Regions from separate parts of the Homo sapiens genome. Here all the other regions are linked to region 5. Evidence: promoter capture Hi-C in 16 types of primary human blood cells and fetal thymus (Javierre and others, 2016). All regions are on one chromosome and are shown on one strand. The core of a region is centred on a gene start or on the middle of the fragment in contact, and the rest is flanking DNA. Distances in the headings are between cores, read along the strand shown.

Region 1 (3,228 bases), core at 615-3,114, 1.7 Mb after region 5:
GTTACCTTTTCAAAATGTAGCACTGATTTGATGTTGACTTCGTACATTTGTCCAGAATCTACAGTAATTCTGATGCAGGTTGACTCAGTGTCCATATTTTAAGAACCACTAGTTTAATGATGATTCCACTGGTTGGAATCATCTCTTTGGCTGGTCCCAGGATACCCTGAAGGCAGTAGGTTGTGCAGAATCAGATGGAACACACTTATGGAGGCATGAGAGTCACCAAGTGAACCTTTTGTGCAAAAGTGCAAATTTGATTTGGAATTCTCAAAGTCCTATTTATTACAGAAACAAAGGAACCCAGTCAAATGAAATGTGCTGGATAGAAAATTGTGGTCTTTCCATAGAAAAACCTGTTTCACCAGTGCTTTGTTATTCGAATATTTAAGGTATTCATATTTCAAGTTTATTAAACCAGTTTAAATGCTCCTCCACCTACTTATGATTAAAACTTTCAACTCTTTATTACCTTGGTTAATGTTGACTAAGGACCTCCATGTTGAGGGAAAGTGCTGGGGTTAAGCAAATTGAACCTTTGTAGGCCCAGACAGGACCTTAATCAAGATATAAGAGGCCAGGTGTGGTGGCTCACACCCATAATCCCAGTTTTGGGTGGCCGAGGTGGAAGAATCGCTGCAGCCCAGGGATGCTGAGGCTGCAATGAGCCTTGATCATGCCACTGCACTCCAGCCTGAGCAACAAAGCCAGACCCTGTCTTAAAAGAAAAAACAAAGACCCTGAACTGCAGTCACACTTTCCTAAATACCTAGTAAAATTAGCTGGTTAAATCTAGTAAGACGTTCCCCAAAGATTTACGGCAGATGCTGTTTTATATATATTGCTGTGTCCCTCTGTGACAGGAAGTTACAGGGTTCTTTTTACCAGTAGTCCTGTACCCGGGGCCTTGCAAATCAGTGTCATATGGTAGAGAACAGAATCTGATCACATTTCCTACTTCCTAAGCAAGTACCAGAATATACTTACTAAGCTTGTATACTGCCCTCAACTGCTATATATTTTTTTCTTTTTTTTTTTTTTTTGGTGATAGTAGGGTCAAATGCTAAATTGTTCTGCATAAGAAATAAGAATTACAAAGACTGGGCAGCTGAGAAGAAACAATACTGCATACTTAAATTGTTAAGGTAGGTCTTGTGGTTTTTTTTTTTTTTTTTTAAATCACACACCCAAAAAGCTTAGGTGATAACTGCAAAGGATTTTTTTTGGGGGGCGGTGGAGGAGAAAAAAGGGGAGGAGTATTTTTGCAATTTAAACATCCTCTGTAATTTTTCCCGTAAAATCATTCGTAAAATAAACATTACTCATTAGTGCCTTATGAAGTTCTCCTTTTGGGGAATGTGATTAAACATATGGCCTTTATTTTATTTTTTTGAGATGGAGTCTCGCTCTTGCCCAGGCTGGAGTGCAGTGGCGCGATCTTGGCTCACTGCAAGGTCTGCCTCCCGGGTTCAGATCCTTCTCCTGCCTCAGCCTCCCAAAGGAGCTGGAACTACAGGCGCCTGCAACCACGCCCGGCTAATTTTTTTTTTTTGTATTTTTAGTAGAGACAGGGTTTCACCGTGTTAGCCAGGACGGTCTCGATCTCCTGACCTCGCGATCCGCCCGCTTTGGACTCCTGAAGTGTTGGGATTACAGGCATGAGCCACCACGCCTGGCCACGGCCTTTATTTTAAAATTTGGCATAGGAGTCAAAAGCTGCCCAAGGAGGGCAGCTACCTATGGGGTGTGCATACATTCATGACCAATATTTAAGTCCAATATAGCTTTGATAATTGTTCTATAAAATGTTTACACCTCACTGAAGAATCTGTCGTTTTAAAAGAAAATCTTTACATTTATTGTATCCAATTAACTTTGTTAGTAATCTGCCAAGTAAAACAAGTATTCATAGTAATTAGTGACTCTATTGCATTAGAACTGTAACTTAGTGCCATTTTTGAAGACTGTTTTCCCAACAAGGAGGCATTATCATTTATCCAATTACTTTATTCTCTTTGAATAGCAAGCATGATGTAGGCCTCAGCTCACAATTTACTTACCTGATTAGCTTCCATTTCTCTTTAAGGATATTGACTATGTGACACTTCTAAGAAGGCTGACTAGTACGTAAGATTATGTAAAAATCCTACCAGAGTATGTACTAAAATAAAGTTAACATGTCTATTTTCTAGTTGCTTGTGATTTATCTTAATTTTCTTCCTATGTCACTAAGATATGGGTAAAGAGCCCTAAACTCCAAACATTTTTACATGTTAATATAAATTTAATGGTGGCATATTATTCCATCTACTGGCTGGGACATGGTATATATAATTATTTGCCTATTAATCGGTTCTGAATATTTGTATTCTGACTCTTGGCTAAGCTGGCTTCTGTCTTTTCTAACTACTGACTGAACTGAACCCTTTGATGACCAGCAAGGTCTCTGACTTCCAAGTGCAATTTGAGCACTATTTATTTTTAGAAGTTTTAAGTCCAAACTATTTCCTTTAATTGCTCTTGTCCAGAATACACAAGCTTTTTCTATATAGGGCCACATAAGAAATATTTTAGGCTTTGCAAGCCAATCTCCCTCACATATTCCTTTCCTTTCCCCCATTAACAACTCTTTAAAACAAACAAACAAACAAACAACAAAACCTGAAACTGGAAGTTTTAAGTTTACTGCCACATGGGTACAATCATATACTTAGGTCGATAACTTTATAGTTTTAAATGTAACATCTCACATTTCAAGCATCTCCTAAAACTTGCCATTGTAATTCTAGTTGCTAACATAATGGACATCATTATTTTTATGAAAATATTCCTATAGAATTAAAAATAACACTTGAAAAAAATTAAGATTGTTTTTCAAATAGCTTACTTGGTTAAAGTCTACTTATGGAGCAAGCTACAAGTCCATATAATCTTTGCTGTTTGCCACCTACCTAACCAATTCCTCATTTTACTCATGTTTTGTTAGACAGAATCAACTTAGGATATTGTCTTCCGTCCTAGGGACCCAGAGGAAAAGAGATGACCAAAGATGCAATAAACTGCCCCAATATACTGTGTCTATTTAAACAGAAATCAATCAGCTGTTAGGCAAGCCAATGGGTGCATAAGTAGGGAGAGGGGTCAGCCAACACTGGACACCTTAGAGCAGTGGTTCCCAACCTTTTTGGCACCAGGGACCCGTTTTGTGGAGGACAATTTTTCAATGGA
Region 2 (3,113 bases), core at 82-2,581, 1.8 Mb after region 5:
ATTTTTTTGTGGAGATGGGAGTCTTGCTTTGTGATGGGGATATTATTAAGCAGACTGCTTATAGGAAATTACAATGCTTGGTATTTACTCTTGGAAAACCATAAACTAAGACATATGTCATAAAAACAATGTATAGATTTCATGGGAAATCTATCGAGTTTAGATTATATAGCACAGGTGTTAGGGGCTATGGAAAGTCTGCAGGGGTTAATTAGGAATCCTAATTTCTCTATCTCCAGAGTCAGCTCTAACTACCTCAAAGAATAAAACTTATTTTTCAGTTAGAGCTATAAAATGGGAGGCAAATTTTGTCTTTAAATAGGTACCATATACATGGCTGTGTCAAAGAATGTACTGTATGTAATGGTGACTAGAAAAGCTGAATGATGTATGACCTTTAAGAAATTAAAAATAAATGTAGAAAATCAGGCACGTTTATGTTCCAAAATATTTGTGTATTTTAAGATAAAGCTAGGTCTAAAGCTGTTAGGAAATGTTTAGTGCTTAAGCTTTATTCTTACCCAGCTGTAGTAATGTAGGAAGAGTTTTGCTTTATGTAGCGGCAGTAATTGGAAAGAAGAGTAATACAGAAACCAGGAAACCTGCATAACCTGCATAGTAATTATGGCTCTGCTTTTGAATGAGTCACTTAATACACATGGGCTTTGGTTTCTTCAGCAGTATTGGACCACATTATTTTTTAAGATCCTGATCAACTCTAGAAGATTATGAACCATCTCTAAATACAGGATTTTGCTCTGACTATAAATTAGCTGTAGTGTTTACAGGGGAGTTTGATTTTTTAATTGAATGTTTATATCATATAGTTTTATCTCTGACCAAAACAAGAAAATATTTCTTGTATCCCAAACAAGAAAATATTGGACTATGTCAGACTCTGTTGGCATAAATTCATATTTACCTTACAACACCCAGGATAATCATACTACAAAAAATATCTTCCTTGGGTGCCCACCTGTGGGTAGTTTTTTATTTTACACATACAATGATTTTTGCCAAGACAAGTTTGTTTCTTCTGGAAAAATGTACTTTCCCCAAATTTTTTATTTTAAATTTTTTGAAAAGAAATAACCATAGTAATTAATCCCTCCTCTCCAACCAGGTTCATCAGGTAAAGCGCAGTTTGGGAAAATGATCTTTTTAGTTACTCCAAATTTCTCCTCTTCTACATTCAGGGTTTTAGAGAAGCCCTGATAAAAACAGTTTTACAGAGAACCACAAGACAAAAAGGGGTAAAGGTAATTTAAAAGCCCAAAAATAAGGAATTTTGTAAGGAAAGAACTCAGCTGTAAAACTTTCAGTGCCAGTGAACAAGTAGAACCATCTTTTGCATGTGCTATTGTAGTGTTTGCCCGTCCCAGACTAGGAGAAGTGAGATACAGATACGTAATCCATGAACAAAGAACCTTACCTCTTTGGACCTCAGTTTCCTCAGAGTCATGTTTGCAATATGGAAATTTGCTGTAACAAATTAGAAACTTAGAAGTATTATTAGAGTACTTTTGTTGACATAGTATTTTGTTCCCTTGCTGAGTGTAACAACAACAACAAAAATACAGGAACAGGTAAACAGTAGTTTCCAAAGTGTAGGTATCTTGAGGCTTGAATCTCTGCTGGTAATTACTGGAACTAAAGCTCCAATATTGAGAAGACTGTGGCATCCAGACCTTGAGTTTCTGATCTTTCTTCCTCACATCGATGTGTAATAAAGGAGGAAAGACAAATGGATCTGAGCCTCAGGACCTGTGGTTCTTTTCATTTTAAGAACTGGACAGTTGATGGATGTGGTTCCTGGTTCTGGTTTAGAGCTGAAGCATCTGTCAAGGCTCTGGGTCTTACTCTTAATGTTCTCTTTGGATAGAGAACTGATGCTCAAAGGAACACTTGGCTGTTTCTCAGTCCCTGTCTTGAATTGTCAGTGAAGACAGGAAGAGCAGAAGGTAGAGGAATACTTTATAAGAATTACAATGGAGGGCAAGAGGACTAAAGTAGAAATAATAATTAACATACAGAACGCCCACCATTTTCCAACTACTGTTTGAAAACCTCGTATTTTCTGTTGGAACCAAATAACAACTCAGAGAAGTTCATCATAAATGAACTTCTTGCCAGACTTGAAAAGAGAGAAGAGAACAAGCTTTGGAAAGGATTTTATTACCCACATCTTACTGTCTCAGAAAGGTTAACTTGCCTGGAGTCACAGAGATACTTACCAAATGAGAATCATAATTTTTAAATGCAAGACTTTACCTCACAACATCCTGCTGCAGTATGCCAATAATATACTCACTCAAGTGCATATGAATTTTACCTTTTCAACATATCATTACCTTAGGGATTTTGGATCTTTTTTTAAAAGGCTGATTTCTGTATTATTAAGAGAAAAGATTTTCGGTTTGGTAAAACAAGGTAATTTTTGAGGCTTTTTTGTTTTGTTTTACCCTTATCATTAACACTCAGTCATCCAAGTGTTTCCTTCATGAAATATTTGCAATAACAGGGCTTACCAAGATGATGGGAATTCTGAAAGGTCTTCAATGAACAGAAATGTTTTTTCTCCCCATATCCACCAATAATAGAAGTAGTTTGCTGATAGTATCATAGCAATTATTTTTTACATTTATCACAAACATTTGGACTTAATTTTACTTTTGAGCATTGATATTTATGATGTCACTTAAAATTTAAATTTCATAGACAAGAGAAGAAAGAAAAATGGAAGCAATTTTGCAAGCTTTTGCCAGACTTGAAAAGAGAGAGAAAAGAAGAGAACAAGCTTTGGAAAGGATCAGCACAGCCAAAACTGAAGTTAAAACTGAATGTAAAGATACACAGATTGTCAGTGATGCTGAAGTTATTCAGGTATTATTTATTCAGGTCGTTTTATTTTCTTAAACACTTTAAAATAAAATGTCTATACTTGCATTAATTACTTATAAGGAATTTAAAATAATGTCTATTAGCTTTTTAATAGCATTTTTCAGATCCTATGGGAGTTTCAGCTTGAGATAAAAGACTATATATTATCTCTGTTCTTTATTATATATCAGAATTCAAAAATTCCAGAAAGTTGGCTTCTGAAGTAGAATAAT
Region 3 (3,224 bases), core at 466-2,965, 1.8 Mb after region 5:
TTTTCTACAATCAGCATGTATTAATTTTGAAATTAAGAAACATTTCTTTTAAAATAATGAATAATTCTTAATGTAACAGCATAGACATTAGCTGAATATTGATTTTCTTGTTGTTGTTTTTTTTTTTTTTTTTTTTTTTTTTTTTTTTTGGAGACAGAGTCTTAACTCTGTCGCCCAGGCTGGAGTGCAGTAGCGCAGTCTCGGCTCACTGCAACCTCTGCCACCTGGGTTCAAGTGATTCTCCTGCCTCAGCCCCCAAGTAGCTGGGATTACAGGTGCCTGCCATCACCCCTGCCTACTTATTGTATTTTTAGTAGAGATGGGTTTTCACCATCTTGGCCAGGCTGGTCTTGAACTCCTGACCTTGTGATCCACCCGCCTCTGCCTCCCAAAGTGCTGGGATTACAGGTGAATATTGGTTTTCAAAGTACAGTCATGCACACATAACAACGTTTCAGTCAACACCAGACCACATAATACAATGGTGGTCCCATAAGATTATATTGGAGGTGCCGTCTACACGTGTACCATTTTTTATCTTTTTTATTGTTTTTTTACTGTACATGTTTTTTTCTCTTTTTAGAGACAGAGTCTCATTCTGTTGCCCAGGCTAGAGTGCAGTGACATGATCATAGCTCACTGTAACCTCAAACTTCTAGGCCCAAACAGCTCTCCCACCTCAACCTCCCAAGTAGCTAGGACTACAGACGTGTGCCAACACGCTTGGCTAGTTTTTTTTTTTTATTTTTAATGTCTGTAGAGAAAGTCTTGCTATCTTACCCAAGCTACTCCTGAACTCCAGGCTTCAAGTGACCCTCCTGTCTCAGACTCCCAAAGTGTTGAGATCATAGGCATGAGCCACCACACCCAGCCCTTATTTTCTATGTTTAGATGTGTTTAGATACAGAATACTTAGCATTGTGTTACCTACAATATTCAGTGCATTGTGTTACCTACGATATTCAGCGCATAACATGCTGTATAGATTTGTAGCCTAGGAGCAATAGTTATGCCATTTAGCCTAGGTGTATAGTAGGCTATACCATCTAGGTTTGTGTAAAGTACACTCTATCATGTTCACACAACGGTGAAATCACCTAATGATGTATTTCTCAGAATGTATCTCCAATGTTAAGCAAAGCATGACTATATTCAGAACATAATGGAGACTCTTCACAATCTCCTTTAGAACCATTAGATAACCTCAGTTTGTATCTCCTCTTTTTGCTGATTCTGGCACACAGCGCTTACAACAGCAGCCACTGAGAGCTAAATTGAGACTTCGTGAAGGGATGACAGTATATTAAGAAGCAGTTGACTGTAAAAAATGTTTTTTATGCTGCTAGTCTCATGACTAATCAGAATATAACCACTAAATATCCTTAAACTAAATAATAGTGCAAATAGTACTAAGTTCTAATGTAAAGTTTTAATAGGAGGTAGGATAAAGATTGTCATGAAAAATTTTTCAAGTGATGTTATAGTTTTGTAAAATAAAGGCACAGAAACAAATCATGTTATTGAGTATTTGCAAGGGAGAGATTAATTTTAGTGTGAACTGACCTCAGATGTAGGTTCACAACCTTGTTGATCAATAGGAATTAACCAAGTAGAGCTCAGGAGGATTGGTAAGAGTAAAGAAGTTGGGAAAGTGATGTATGTAAAATGCTAGGCCAGGGAGCTTGTAAGTCAACAACAGTGGGCAAATTGTATCAGTAGTTGATCAGTCTCCATCATCTAAGACCAGAATTGCTCATCTTACAGATAGCTGTTTATGTTTTTTTTCAGGTATAAATCCTGGTTTATTTTGAAACTTCCTATTACTTAAGTTTACTGACATTTCCAAGGCTTTATTATATTAATATCTGGTCACACTCAACACATGCATATATTTTTGAACACTGAAATGCATACTTCAGTTCCATTTGAGGTCCATATAGATTCTGTGTGTTTTAGTCTTGCTTAAATTATTTCTACTACTTCTTTGCACCCCTTTGCTAGTTTTCTCAGTGCCGTAGGGTTTATTAAATAATAATTGGACTCTAGTAATTTTTTTTAATGAGAGAGAGGGAAACTATATTTGAAATTGGATTGGGACATTTATTTTACTTAAACAGAAGTTTGCTTATGACACATAATCTAGATGGGATATATCTTATCTATAGTGTATCCACCTGCTGTAAGTAGATACTGTATTTGTATAGCCATTATTTTGCTGTAAGTACTTTATCATTTTAATTAAATTGATTAAGAGGAAAAAAAAAGAATGGAATTCTCTTTGATGCAACTTTTTCCCCCCAGACCAGAATCCGTAGAAGCTAGCCCTGTGGTAGTTGAGAAATCCAACAGTTATCCCCACCAGTTATATACCAGCAGCTCACATCATTCACACAGTTACATTGGTTTGCCCTATGCGGTAAGTGTTAAACACTTCTTTGAAAAAACATTTTTAAATTTAGAGATTGAAAGTAGATGCATGTGATACTGTGCTTGAAACGGCATGTTTGAAAAGCATGGTTGTTTCATACTATCAAAATAATTAGGCGTTTAATTTTTCATTAACCATTAAGCGATTAAAGTTCTATAAAAGTGAACTGTTTCTCTTATTATTTTGCAATTTATGCTGTTAATAGTTTGATATTATATTTCTTTACTTCCTAAAAGAATGCAGATAAGGTTGTATTGTACTACCTACTATTAATTTTGAATTATATAGTAATTAATTTTGTTTTAATTTTTTGATTTTTAGTTTTTGAATTATATAGTAATTTATATAGTAAATTTTATAGTTACCATTTATTGAGCCCTTGTTATGTGTCAGACATATATTATTTAATCATTAAAAACAACTTCATGAGATGTAGTTTTCATCTTTTATTTCATAGGTGAGAAAATAAAAGCCTATCTAACTTATTAAATATTGCATATCTAGTAAGAGGCAGCATTTAGATTCAAACGTAATTACATAACAACACATTTATGATACTATGGAGGTAGAATTATGAGATACTTACTACTTGGACCAGAATAAAAATTACTAAATTTAAAAAACTATATTATATGTTTTATAGTGATAAATATGTCTTGTTTTATTATTCTTTAGGCTCCATATTTCTGAGATGTGTGTTTTTCTTTTTCTTTTTTTTTTTTTTAACACTTCTATTCTCACATCTTAATACCTTCTTTCATCTTGGAGGTGGAGCTATGTATGTGACCATAGGAAC
Region 4 (3,155 bases), core at 302-2,801, 1.8 Mb after region 5:
CATCCAGACTAGACATCAGGTCTGTGTTGATGAAGAAATGAACCTGTAATATTAGAGGCGGGAAAGGATCTCCTGTTGAAGGAAACACAGTCTCCATAAAAACAAAGTCTGAACAGAGACTGCAGGTTTATCCCTCTAAGCCTGAAATTCCGGCTCTAGGAATCCAGCCCAAGGAGATAAACCCTGGTTGCACCACCCCAAATTCATGCCTAATATATGCTGGCACAAAATTATATGTACTCGCAAAATTACGAAGAGCCAGTAATAGTAAAATGGTGGTTAAAAGAAAACCAAGGTAGATTCACTTAATAGTATTTAATATTACTTAACAACATGGGAGAAGATCATGGTACAACATTAGGCAGTAAAAGAACAGTCAAACTATGTCCTACAGATAATCACAAGATTATTAAAATGCTCATTAAGATGGAAATCAACTGAATCAAAACATCAGCTTTTGTTAGTAGGTTATTTCAATTTCCACATTTTCTGTAATATGACTATATTGATTTAGACTGTTGATCTCACCACAGCAACAGTTAAAGCAAACTAAGAAAGCTCACATGTGACTAAACCAAGTTCTCTGGGAAAGGGAGCGAACTTTTATGACATGAATCTATTCTATCTCAGAAAAAATACTCTCCAGGTTTGCAAATATAGGTAACTACAGAGAAGCACTGTGTGCTGAGAATAGTAAAGGAACCTATTTCTGAGGCGCCAGGTGTTAAACTAAGATCCATCAACAAGGCATCTTTTAAGTACAATCTTCCATGAAAAGAGAAGTTTTACCACTATAAATGCTTAACAGCTGCATAGTAACAGTGAGCAAAACAATATAATAGTGAAAGGCCATGAGAAACTATTCATCCATAACTAGGCATACTATAAACTGGTAAAAATATTCGCAAGGAGCAGTAAAATATCTAACTACTTTTAACAAGGTAAAGACTGTGCAAAGAAGCAGTCTATAAACAACAGTATATGCAGGAGAGTCCTAAACACCTATGGTCCTGAGCACAGAGCAGCACTGCAATATAACAAAACACTGAACCGCCTCTAAAAAAAAAAAAAATGTGTGGACTTTTTTTGTGGAAAAAGTTTATAATATAATGCAAAGGAAAATCAACTCACCCAGATGCTATAATGATTATGTGTGCAAACCCTTAAGCTCAGTATAAGAAGTAACCTTGCCCTGGAAATAGTTGATAAGGTTACTTAAACACAAAGCCCAAGCCCCCAACTCTGTATCTATTGCTAGGAGACACAACAAGAGTGGGCTCACTGAATGAGTGAGGGTCTCGAGTCCATGAGCCAGCTCCAGCCCTGCAGATGATGCCCAAGAAATGTAGCCACCTCCATCACTTAGAATGATAATTAAGAATAAGAGGGGAAAGCATATTTTAAAAACACATTTTCACCATTTGCTCTTACTATAAAAGTAGCACCCTAACAAGTTAAAGAAATGTCATCGGCCGGGCACGGTGGCTCATGACTGTAATTCCAGCACTCTGGGAGGCCAAGGCAGGAAGATCACCTGAGGTCAGGAGTTCGAGACCAACCTGGCCAACATGGTGAAACCCGATCTCTAATAAATACAAAATTGGCCAGGCGTGGTGGTGCACACCTGTAATCCCAGCTACTTGGGAGGCTGAGGCACAAAAATCGTTTGAACCCAGGAGGCAGAGGTTGCAATGAGCCAAGATAGCATCACTACACTCCAGCCTAGGCAACAGAGTGAGACTCTGTCTCAAAAAAAGGAAAAAAGAAAATATATGAAGACGTAAAAAAAAAAAGAGAGAAAAGAAAATATATGAAGATGTGTTTCACTGAAACAAGTTTTGCAAATAACTAGACAACTGTGACAATTTTAGTTTCTTAAAGTTCCATTTCTAGCCTGTCCTCCTTAAAGAATGTGGAATATCACTTCACCCTTCCTGTGACTATCAGCTGTCAATCTCAGTATCAACTCACACACACACAAGCAAACATGAGCCTGGCAGCCAATTGTGTGGTCCCCAAGAGCCCCTTAGGCTTCTGAATTTGCTCTGAGAAACAGCTTGAAAGAGCCAAGGAAAACCAACAGGAAGCAGGCTCTGAGGAAGGGTTCCTCCTGCAGAGTAAAGGCTTTGTGACAGCAACTGTACTGGCCAGTCCTGGACTTGCAGAGTCCTTCTAAGGAAACAGGGAAGTTCTATTATACTTCTCTTGAATCTTAAAGTGGTTTGTGAAGGAAAATACATTATTTTATCCATGAAATTGTCATATTCCAGAATTAAATAAAGAAGCCCATGAGGTTCCACACTACATGTGGGAGGACTCTAAAGGCAAATCCTGGACTATATTTACATGAACACTGGTAATTACAAAGCAAACCATGATATAAAACTGATGAGCATCAATTGTGTACACGTAGAAAGTAAACCTACCAAGAAATACCAATACAAAGCAAGAGACAATGAAGAGATCTGAATGAATTCTTACACAAGTAGACAACCAAATGTAGGTAAATATTGGAGTTTAAAATGTGTATAAACCCTACCTCACATCCCATACAAAAATCAACTCAAAATAGGTCATATGCCTCAGAGCTAAAACTAAACAATTCCTAGAAAAGTAAATCTTCATGACCTTGAAGTAGGCAATGATTTATTAGATGTGACATCAAAAGCACAAATTGTAAAATGTATATAAATTGGACTTCATCAAAATTTAAAAATTTATACTTAAACTTTCACATGTGTATTCAAGAGAAACGGAAACATCTGCCCACACAAACTTGTACATTAATGATCATAGTAGCATCATTCATAATAGCCAAAAAGTGGGGGAAAACCAAACGCCCATCATCTGATGGAGGGATAAACAAGAGGAGTGGCAGTGACAACGCCCAGCCTGTGTAGCTGTCAAATGCCCACGAAAGAGCTTTCTTTGCTCTTTACAGCATCAAAAGAATCTGTTGCTTTTTAGGTATTCAGGAGATAATTTTAAAACACTGTGACAAGTTCAGCTCAGACACTAAATATTAAAAATACAGAATACAGTATCTCTTTTTAAAACTCAGCTCCTGGGTTTTAGCCCTCAGTTCTCACATTTCTCTTGATGTTGTCCCTGACTCAGGGAAACGTGGATTTTATGCTGCTGCACAGAAGCTTCTT
Region 5 (3,432 bases), core at 554-3,053:
AGGTGCTTCCTGTGATTATACCTACATGTTTTTGTATATATGTATGCATGTTTGTATTTATTTTTGGTTAACACACATTTGTTTTAGAAACATGAGAGAATAACCTTGGTCGTCCTTTATTACATTACATCATGAGTCTTGTGGACTGAACCTGCGAAGCATAGCAGCCGGGTAGGTGGAGGGAGATGAGTCTGGAAAGATAAATGGGAGTCAGATCATGAAGGGCCCCACCTGCCATGCTAAGGACCCTTTACTTTATTGTGACCAAGGGCTCCCTGATGGATTCTTCATAATGGGACTGCCGTAACAGTTTCATTTGTAAAAGATCCTATAGGTAGTAATGTGAAAAAACTGACAATGGGCCTGGAGTAGATTGAAGAGGCAGGAAAGGGGTGTATCAATTGAATGTGGAAGATGGAAAAAGAGAGGAGCTTCTGGGTGGTTTGGAGTTTTGGGCAAATGTAGGTATGATTGGCTGTTTGGCATTGCAAATATGGGAAGAGATTCAGGGGACACAGTGAATTCCCTTTTGGACAAGTTGATATTGAGTTTCCAATGGGGTATTCAAGTGTAGTTTCCTAGTAGTTGATGGTTAAGTGGGCTGGAGCTCAAGAGAAAGGCCTGGGTTGGGCAGACAGGTCTTGAAGTGGAGGGAAAAACCCAGAGGGAGAATGTTCAGTAGAAGAGGCTTAGAGTCCTGGCAAACACCAACTTTTAGGGCAAAATGTAGTGTTTCACAGCACAGTCTTTGGCGTTAACCTATTACTAGCAGGGTAACCTGGGGCAAGTTATTTGACTTCAGTGTCTTAATTGCAAAATAAGCACTATACCATCTACCTGAGTTAGAAAAGCATTTGCAATTTTTAGTTCCTTGAGAGATCTGTGGGCTGGGCGCAGTGGCTCACGCCTGTAATCCTAGCACTTTGGGAGGTGGAGGTGGGTGGATTACCTGAGGTTAGGAGTTCAAAACCAGCCTGACCAATATGGTGAAACCCCATCTCTACTAAAAATACAAAGTAGCCAGGCGTGGTGGCACATGCCTGTAATCCCAGCTACCTGGGAGGCTGAGGCAGGAGAATTGCTTGAACCCAGGAGGCAGAGGTTGCAGTGAGCTGAGATTGCACCACTGCACTCCAGCCTGGGCAACAAGAGTGAAACTCCATCTCAAAAACAAAAACAAAAACAAAAAACAGATCTGTGAATAAAGAGGAGTCCAAGAAGGTGCAGAGGGAACTATGAGGAGGTGGAGCTCTAGAATATATTGAGAAAAGAGAATTTCAAAGAAGCCAACAATGTCAAATCCTCCAACAGGACTGTAACATAAGTCTGTAAAGTGTCCAACTTTTAGCAATTAGTGACCTTACCAAGGGCAATTTCTATGGAATGAGATGAGCCATATTGTAGAGGTTCGAAGAGTGGATAGTGGTCAACACGGATACATCGTTTCCTCCCCTCACGGCATCTGTCTCTCCCACTAGACTTTTCCTTTAAAGGCAGTGACTTATGAATATTATTCCACTGTTTTCAATCAATTCCATCCACCAGTGAGATATATTGCATCAGGTTACCTTTCATTCCACCGCATTTGTGCCTTGCACTTAGTAGGCGATCGATAAAATAACTGATGATAAAGGGGCTTCTGCAGACTCCCCAATTCATTTGGTAAAGACCGCTCAGCATCATGGTCGGGCCCTGATTGCTTTCACAACCGCTTCGAGGAGTGTCATTCCCATCACGGCCACAAGGTGGAGCCCACCTCCCTGCTCTGGGACCTCAGGTCGCGACCCCGGAAGCACATCCTTCATCCTCTACCTTCCTTCTAGCAGAAATGGCGGCTGCGGCGGCTCGAGTGGTGTTGTCATCCGCGGCGCGGCGGCGGCTCTGGGGTTTCAGCGAGAGTCTTCTAATCCGAGGCGCTGCGGGACGGGTGAGCTTCCCTCCAGGCCGGTCCTGTCCTCGAGATCTCGCCAGACCCGGCGCAGCGCACCTGAGAGTCGGCGCCACAGATCCGAACAGTGGGTCGGGCAGGGCCTCCTCGACCCGGACCCGCCGGGCGCCAGGCGGCCTGGGGCTGCTGAACTGGCCGGGGGTGACTGGCTTGTGGCCACCCGCCAGGAGACCTGCTAGTGACGTGTGGGATGACCCTGGTTTTCGGCTCCTCCCGCCAGCTACTGAGGAGTGCATGTTTGACCACTAAAAACGTAGTGCTTGCAAATTGGGGAAAACTAAAAAGTGAAATGGGTACCGCTCCAGAGTTCTATTTTTGCCTAAGACTGAACTTCGTCCTCAGCTGGGCTTCCCGCGAACCTGGACATCAATGAAGTAAAATTTTTTATGTATTTGCATTTTTCTCATGAGAGAGCCTCTGACTTTAAGCAAAGGGATGTGAGACTTTTGTATAAGGGCAAAGAAAAACTGCTGAAAGGCGAATAGTTTCTGGCCGAAAAGCCAGTCATTTGCATTTTGAACATCGACCCATCTTCCTATCCTCTCTCTCTTTTTTTTTTTAACCATTTCCAAACCCTGTTGCTTTTCTTGAACAATGAAAACCCGAGTGTCAGTTTTGTCTTGTGTGTAGGTAGTTTTACATAGTTTCCCTCTCTTTTTTTTTTTCCTGCTTGTTTTCTCCATAATGAATATAAAACATTTCTAGGAGAGGTAGTGAAATAAAGTCAATTTCTCTCTGGGTAATGATAATAATTGCTCATCTTCCCTGAGGGAAGGGCATGTTTATAAACACGTTGCTGGCTTTAGGACAGTGGCTGGTGACAGATGTTTCTAGGCCAGGCAGAGATCTCAGTGGAACCAAAATTCAAGAAGAAAGATTCTTTTATAGAGACAGCCTATTTAAAATAGATTTGGTTTTAAAAGCAACATTTAATATCAGATTAGTAATGTGTTTTGCTTTGTCTCTTCCACTTCCTACCCCCAACCAGTCATTATATTTTGGAGAGAACAGATTAAGAAGTACACAGGCTGCTACCCAAGTTGTTCTGAATGTTCCTGAAACAAGAGTAACATGTTTAGAAAGTGGACTCAGAGTAGCTTCGGAAGACTCTGGGCTCTCAACATGCACAGTAAGTGACTCAGGCAACCTTCTCTAAGTGACCCTTCATTTAGCGTAGCAAATTGTTGATTTTAATCTTTAGCTTTTTCGTTGGCTGGTGGTTCAAAAAGGGTGACAGTTATTTTGCCTTGACAGATTTCCATGAGTTGTGAACCTTTTCTTCCAGTGGTACTTAGTTACAGGGTGCATATGTATCCTGTTGCATTGTCTGCATCTTGTTCTTGTAGCTTATTATTGATTATTTATTTTCAGTAGTATTGATAATAATGAAAGAAATATGTTTGCAGGGCTACTCTGCCAAGTGTTTTTACTGATGTCTTATTTGATAAAAAGCAATTGTTTGTAGTGGGCATCCTCACACCTGT
Region 6 (3,270 bases), core at 267-2,766, 1.8 Mb after region 5:
GTCTTGTCATAGAAAAGTAGCGTTTGCTCAACCATTATTGCACTCATCAAACCTAAGAAGGCCAGGCACAGTGGCTCACACCTGTAATCCCAGCACTTTGGGAGGCCAAAGTGGGTGGATCACCTGAGGTCAGGAGTTCAAGACCAGCCTGACCAACATGGTGAAACCCCATCCCTACTAAAAATTAGCCAGGTGTGGTGGCACGCACCTGTAGTCCCAGCTACTTGGGAGGCTGAGACAGGAGAATCACTTGAATCTGAGAGGTTGGGGTTGCAGTGAGCCAAGATTGCATCATTGCACTCCAGCCTGGATGGCAGAGTGAGACTCTGTCTCAAAACAACAACAGCAACAACAAAAAACCCTAAGATGCCACCAGTTATAAGACTCCTGATTTCAGAGATGCTAAAAGGTGAAAAAAAAGAATTGATGAGGCTGGGTGCGGTGGCTCACGCCTGTAATCCCAGCACTTGGGGAGGCCGAGGCCGGCACATCATGAGGTCAGGAGATTGAGACCATCCTGGCTAACACTGTGAAAACTCGTCTCTACTAAAAATACAAAAAAAAATAAGCCGGGCATGGTGGCAGGTGCCTGTAGTTCCAGCTACTCGGGAGGCTGAGGCAGGAGAATGGCGTGAACCTGGGAGGCGGAGCTTGCAGTGAGCCGAGATCGCACCACTGCACTCCAGCCTGGGCGAAAGTGTGAGACTCGTCTCAAAAAAATAAAAATAAGAAGAATTGATGAAATATAGTATTTTTATTATTATTATTATTATTATTATTATTTTGATGCCACATTGTGGGCTCTAGGGGTTGGGGTGGCAGTGGATAGCAGTATATGATTGAAAAACCTTCCCAGTTGATAACCACCAATAGATAGTTATAAGCCTTGTCATTAATGACATATTTTCCAGGTTGTGTTTGTGAAATAATTTGAAAAGAATAATTTTCAAAATTGTAAGCTGATGCTTCTGAAGGCAGAAAGTAATTTATGGTAATGTACAATTATTTTAACTTTTAGGTGAGGCATGAAATTCAAGATGGAACCATACATCTTTATATTTATTCTATACACAGTATTCCAAAGGGAACTGAAATTACTATTGCCTTTGATTTTGACTATGGAAATTGGTGAGTTCAAGTCTATAAATGTAATCTGTTGTTTGAAAATAGTTCCATAATGTCCCTGTAATAATTTAGGTATTGTCATTACTTTTATAGCTTTTTATTTTTATCTATCATGAATCAGTTAAAAGTACTTGAAAACCAGAAGTTTAGTATCAGCCTCTATTACAGCATTGCTACTTTTCATTTCTACATTTTCCTTAATTATTATTGTAATGTAAATGTTCACAGTAATTATAACAAGTAACCCTAATTCAGCCATACAACACTGACCTTGTTTATGTGAGAATTTTTTTCTTCTTCTAGGGGATATAATTTTAGTCATACAGTTTATTTGGTTAATCAGTATGAATGAATAATTTGTCTTTTGCCCCTCAAAACAAAAGAAAATTTTCTTTGCAGTATAAATTAAAAGGGTTTGTTGGAGATCCTACAAAGAAACTCTAAGAACTATTTTTCTGAAATACTAGTAAAAAACTAATGATAAATCTCAGTACAGTTGGCCCTTGCACAATGCGGGGTTGGAGCACCAACTGCCTGCACAGTCCACAATCTGCGTATACATTTTGACTCCCCAGAAACTTTACTAATAGCCTACGGTTGACTGGAAGTGTTACCAATGACAATTAACACATATTCTGTATGTCTTATACTGTATTCTTACAATAAAGTAAGCTGGAGAAAAGAAAATGTTTTTAAGAAAATCATAAGGAAGATACAATATATTTACTGTTCATTAAGTGGAAGTGGATTATCGTAAAGGTCTTCATCCTCATCTTCATGTTGAGTAGGCTGAGGAGGAAGGGTGGGGGTTGCTCTTGCTGTCTCAGGGGTGACAGAGGGAGAAGGGGTAGTAGAAGGGGAGGCAGGAGAGGGAAGCACATATGGTGTAACTTTATGAAAACATATTAGTAATTTCTGCCTGGCTTTTTTGCTTTCTCATTTCTCTAAAAATGTTTCTATATGGTGCCAGTCTTCCGTCATTTGCTTTAGCTTCAGTGCCCATATCATAGAAGAGTCCATATCATAAAAAAGTAAAAAATCAGTCTTGAAAACAATGGAGCCCTTCTGCCAGATTGTCTAATGTAAATTTGTTTTTTGGCACTGCTTTTTCTACATCTTCTTTCTCATCATCTGGCACTGGTTTGGAAGCAATCATCTCCATTAGGCATCTTCTGTTAATTTCTCTGGTGTGGTGTCTATTAGCTCTTGAATTTCTCTGAGATCCATATCTGTATTCTTCCTTCATCCCCACCTTTTTTTGTTATATCCATGATCTCTTTCATGATTTTTCTGATTGGCTCTGATGTAAATCCTGTGAAGTCATGCACAACATCTGGACACAGTTCACTCCAGCAGGAATTTATTGTTTTGGGCATGATGGCTTTCACAGCTTTTTCTATAATGATGGCATCTTCGATGGTATAATCCTTCCAGACTTTCATGATCTTCTCTTTCAGGGTTCTGTTCCATAGTGTTGACATTCTTTTCCATAGAGTACTGTGTGTAATGAGCCTTAAAGGCCATTATCACTCCTTGATTTAGAGGCTGAATTAGAGACACTTTGATGCCCTCAGTGTTGAACTCATAGGGTTCTGGGTGGCCAGGGGCATTGCCCAGTATCAAAAGACATTTAAAAGGCAATCCCTTCCTAGCTACCTGTTGTCTGACTTGAGGGACAAAGCATCAATGGTACCAATCCAGAAAAAGGGTTCTCCTCCAGGTTTTCTTGTTATACAACCAAAAGACTGGCAGCTTCCGTTTGTTTTCCCTTCAAGGCTTGGGTTTAGCAGCTTTATAGATAAGGGCAGTCCTGATCATAAACCCAAATGCATTTGCACAAAACAGTAGAGTTAATCTGTCCCTTCCTGCCTTAAATCCTGGTGCTTCCTTCTCTTCCTTACTAATAAATGTCTTTTTATGACTTTCCCCCCCCAGAATAGGACATTTGTGTCTGCATTAAAAGACTTTTCAGGCAGATACTCTTTCTCCTCAGTGATTTTCTTAATGGTGTCTGAGAACTCATCTGCTGCCTCTTATTCAGCAGAAGTGGCTTTACCTGTTAAGCTAGACCTCTTTTTAAAATCATCAAACCATACATTACTGGCATTAAATGCTCCAATTTTAGGTCTTTCATATTCCTTTTGT
Region 7 (3,484 bases), core at 756-3,255, 1.7 Mb after region 5:
CTGGGGCAGGAGAATCGCTTGAACCTGAGAGGCGGAGGTTGCAGTGAGCTGAGATCACACCACTGCATTCCAGCCTGGGTGACAGGGCGAGACTCCATCTCAAAAAAAAGAAGACAAATGCACACGTATGTTTATTGCAGCACTATTTACAATAGTAAAGACTTGGAACCAACCCAAATCCCCATCAATGATAGATTGGGTAAAGAACATGTGGCACATATACAGAAAATCTGGCACATATACACCATGGAATACTATGCAGCCATAAAAAAGAATGAGTTCATGTCCTTTGCAGGGACATGGATGAAGCTAGAAACATCATTCTCAGCAAACTAACACAGGAACAGAAAACCTAATACTGCATATTATCACTCATGGGTGGGAGTTGAACAATGAGAACACATGGACACAGGGAGGAGAACATCATACACCAGGGCCTGTTGGGGGGTAGGGGGCAGGGGGAGGGATAGCATTAGGAGAAATACCTAATGCATGCGGGGCTTAAAACCTAGATGACGGGTTGATGGGTGCAGCAAACCACCATGGCACATGTATACCTATGTAACAAACCTGCACGTTCTGCACATGTATCCCAGAACTTAAAGTATAATAATAATAATAATAATAATCCAGAGCAATTCCCTCCTGCCCTGTCTGAGATTTGATGTAAAAAATGCGTCTTCCAGGCTGGGCACGGTGGCTCACGCCTGTAATTCCAGCACTTTGGGAGGCCGAGGCAGGCGGATCATGAGGTCAGGAGATTGAGACCATCCTGGCTAAGATGGTGAAACCCCGTCTCTACTAAAAATACAAAAAAATTAGCTGAGTGTGGTGGCAGGTGCCGGTAGTCCCAGCTACTCGGGAGGCCGAGGCAGGAGAATGGCGTGAACCCGGGAGGCAGAGCTTGCAGTGAGCCAAGATGGTGCCACTGTACTCCAGCCTGGGCGACAGAGCGAGACTCCATCTCAAAAAAACCAAAAATAAATAAATAAAATAATGAAAATTTAAAAATGCTTCTTCCGGCCAGGCGCGGTGGCTCACGCCTGTAATCCCAACACTTTCGGAGGCCGAGGCAGGCGGATCACCTGAGGTCAGGAGTTCAAGACCAACCTGGCCAACATGCCAAAACCCCATCTCTACTAAAAATACAAAAATTAGCAGGGCATGGTGGCGGGCGCCGGCAGTCCCAGCTACTTGGGAGGCTGAGGCAGGAGAATGGTGTGAACCTGGGAAGCAGAGCTTGCAGTGAGCCTAGATCATGCCACTGCACTCCAGCCTGGGTGACAGAACAAGACTCTGTCTCAAAAAAAAAGAAAGCTTCTTCTAGGGAGGTTTAGTCTCAGGCTGGCTCTCCAGGCCCAGAAGGGGTCATCTCAAATTTCTGCTCTTTGTGGACAGAGCTAATCAAATACTTTTTGGGTAGGGACAGCAGACATTGCCATATTCAGCTTCTTGAAGCTCCTTCAGACAGTGGAAGCTGGACCTTGAAGCTCCCCTAACAAATAATGTAGCAATTGTTGAGAGTCCTCATGGTCATGGGATAATGCTTGGCAGTCAACAGGGGCTCACATTCTGAAATAAGTAACGCCAACATGGTCATGCTTACTGAAAACTGTAAACTACTTTGAAGCATACAGAAATGTGTATTCTGAAATAAGAGACAGGCTGATAAAAGAGGAAAAGAAAAAGGGGTTTGCTTGGTTCTTAAGAGACAGGGATGGGAGTTCCCTGTAAGCAGAGTTGCACAAGAGATGGTATGGAGGCAGAAAAGAGGAAGCAGGGAGCAAGGCAAGGCCAAAGTCAACTGAAACAGGAAAACTAGCCAGAAAGCACATTGCTTGCTCTTTGAAGACATTTCCTTCAAGTTCTGCCTTGCCCCAAAACCTAACCCAGGCCAGGGTGGTGAGCGCTCTCACCTCTGAGCCTCTGACACATGGACTGCATGTACTGCTATTGCTCCTTGGCATATGGCCCAATTTTCTGAAATCATAAGCATTTCTGTGCAACCATCCTGTCACTCCAGTTAAATTTCAAGACAGATTTTTTTTTTGAATAGTATATCCTTAGTGGAAGAAATAGGAACCATTTTATTTTATTCATTTATTTTTTTTGAGACGGAGTCTTGCTCTGTCACCCAGGCTGTAGTGGAATGGCGCGATCTTGGCTCACTGTAACTTCTGCCTCCTGGGTTCAAGCCATTCTTCTGCCTCAGCCTCCTGAGTAGCTGGGATTACAGGCGCCCGCTACCACACCCAGCTAATTTTTTTTTGTATATTTAGTAGAGACGGGGTTTTGCCATATTGGCCAGTCTAGTCTCGAACTCCTAACTTCAGGTGATCCACCCACCTCAGCCTACCAAATTGCAGGGATTACAGGCGTCAGCCACCGCGCCCGGCTCCAGACTGGGTTTTTTAGCAAAGAAGGAATTAATACAGGGAAGTTGGTGCTCATGAAATAGTTGAAAGTACTGAAGGAATAAGCATGTAGGCTGGGGCCTTCTGGAATGTCTACCTGAATGCCACAGAACTGACCCTCATTTCCCTCCCTCCAGAAGCTACAACCTCAGCCCAGATTAGCAGGCTGAGGGGTCAGGAGGCTGTCACTGGAGCTGTTGAGCTCATGAACACGCCGAAGTTGCTGCGCTCCAGAAATGTGGAAGTTGGAATGAAGAGCCACCACTGCTGCCACCAACATGAAGCTTGACCAAGCAAGCCAAGAAAAGATGGCCAAGAGCCTCTGCCTTCCTTCTGCCTTCTGCAACGCAATGGTGAGCTGCACATCCACAACTTGAAGGGAGTCTGGGAAATGCAGAGTTAAACTTTCTAGCCTCTCTAAGCTTTCAACTGTTACAGAAAGGCAACCCAGGAGGAGACTGGAATAAATGCTGAGTGCCAATTTCCAACACAAGTAGTCATTATAATTGGGGTGAGTGTTATCTTGCCCTGGCTCAGGGGTAATCTTGTGTTGGTTCTGTTCATCCCCACCAAAATCAAGTGCAGGGCTTATTCTCCCTTCCCTAACCATCAGGTCACTAGGGGTCCAGGGCCTCACCTTCCTTCTCAAGAGTTAATGAGCATTCCAGGATGTTGTAAGGAAGGACTGTCCATATGGAATAGGGAGGACACAAACCCAACATTTTGCTCTGACTGTTAGCCAATAAACAATGTCCTGGTTGTTGCTTGCTGTCAGGCATAAGTCCTCACTAGACACCTACCAGAAGGCAACTAACCCAATGGTCTGGCATAGGCAAAGGGGCTTACTAAAATGTAGGCTGGCACTCACTTCTAGCCCTCTCCTCCTGTCCCCACCACCTCTCTGTCTTATCACTTCCCTTCTATCTCCCCTCCTCCCTCAGCCTAGAGAATATTTTTCTAACTTAGGTAAGGAGCTTTGCTGTTATTCCTGATGTTTTCTCCTAAATCTTTTACCAGTTTGTTCTCTCCAGTTCACTAAGGATCTAGACCAGTGGTTTTCAATCTGCAGC

What was found. Contacts are between HindIII fragments. The CHiCAGO score rates a contact against its expected background, and 5 or more counts as called.
Region 1: a fragment that was not itself captured here is called in contact with the fragment with the promoter of PMPCB in region 5 in 4 of 17 cell types (total B cells, activated CD4 T cells, M1 macrophages and 1 more); the score reaches 13.5 in total B cells.
Region 2: a fragment that was not itself captured here is called in contact with the fragment with the promoter of PMPCB in region 5 in 11 of 17 cell types (total B cells, naive CD4 T cells, total CD4 T cells and 8 more); the score reaches 10.4 in total B cells.
Region 3: a fragment that was not itself captured here is called in contact with the fragment with the promoter of PMPCB in region 5 in 4 of 17 cell types (total B cells, naive B cells, naive CD8 T cells and 1 more); the score reaches 11.0 in total B cells.
Region 4: a contact is called between a fragment that was not itself captured here and the fragment with the promoter of PMPCB in region 5, in 6 of 17 cell types (activated CD4 T cells, total B cells, naive B cells and 3 more). The highest score is 11.0, in activated CD4 T cells.
Region 6: a contact is called between a fragment that was not itself captured here and the fragment with the promoter of PMPCB in region 5, in 6 of 17 cell types (total B cells, M1 macrophages, naive CD8 T cells and 3 more). The highest score is 9.2, in total B cells.
Region 7: a fragment that was not itself captured here is called in contact with the fragment with the promoter of PMPCB in region 5 in 5 of 17 cell types (naive CD8 T cells, total B cells, naive B cells and 2 more); the score reaches 7.7 in naive CD8 T cells.

The regions. Positions count from the first base shown.
Region 1 is chr7:104,985,953-104,989,180 of GRCh38, forward strand. LINC01004 (long intergenic non-protein coding RNA 1004) reads right to left here. Exons shown (of 1, transcript NR_039981.2): 1 at 1-3,228. Among named protein-coding and RNA genes, the nearest start is that of LINC01004, 3.6 kb to the right of the region's middle. RefSeq lists enhancers at 1,054-1,555, 1,556-2,055. The HindIII fragment of the contact is 1,343 bases long and covers 1,194-2,536 here.
Region 2 is chr7:105,098,707-105,101,819 of GRCh38, forward strand. It overlaps KMT2E (lysine methyltransferase 2E (inactive)), which reads left to right. Exons shown (of 27, transcript NM_182931.3): 16 at 2,719-2,883. Among named protein-coding and RNA genes, the nearest start is that of KMT2E, 86 kb to the left of the region's middle. The HindIII fragment of the contact is 1,649 bases long and covers 508-2,156 here.
Region 3 is chr7:105,059,863-105,063,086 of GRCh38, forward strand. KMT2E (lysine methyltransferase 2E (inactive)) reads left to right here. Exons shown (of 27, transcript NM_182931.3): 4 at 2,302-2,416. Among named protein-coding and RNA genes, the nearest start is that of KMT2E, 47 kb to the left of the region's middle. The HindIII fragment of the contact is 6,535 bases long and covers 1-3,224 here.
Region 4 is chr7:105,119,596-105,122,750 of GRCh38, forward strand. All of the region lies in intron 15 of SRPK2 (SRSF protein kinase 2), which reads right to left. Among named protein-coding and RNA genes, the nearest start is that of KMT2E, 110 kb to the left of the region's middle. The HindIII fragment of the contact is 3,192 bases long and covers 1-3,147 here.
Region 5 is chr7:103,295,632-103,299,063 of GRCh38, forward strand. PMPCB (peptidase, mitochondrial processing subunit beta) reads left to right here and starts at 1,804. Exons shown (of 13, transcript NM_004279.3): 1 at 1,804-1,927; 2 at 2,937-3,077. The coding sequence starts at 1,829. RefSeq lists enhancers at 1,599-1,658, 1,759-2,058. The HindIII fragment of the contact is 11,349 bases long and covers 1-3,432 here.
Region 6 is chr7:105,080,670-105,083,939 of GRCh38, forward strand. KMT2E (lysine methyltransferase 2E (inactive)) reads left to right here. Exons shown (of 27, transcript NM_182931.3): 13 at 1,019-1,128. Among named protein-coding and RNA genes, the nearest start is that of KMT2E, 68 kb to the left of the region's middle. The HindIII fragment of the contact is 3,696 bases long and covers 1-3,270 here.
Region 7 is chr7:104,959,433-104,962,916 of GRCh38, forward strand. LOC101927902 (a long non-coding RNA gene) reads left to right here. Exons shown (of 2, transcript NR_187679.1): 2 at 2,552-2,902. Among named protein-coding and RNA genes, the nearest start is that of LINC01004, 30 kb to the right of the region's middle. RefSeq lists an enhancer at 1,922-1,991. The HindIII fragment of the contact is 1,381 bases long and covers 1,316-2,696 here.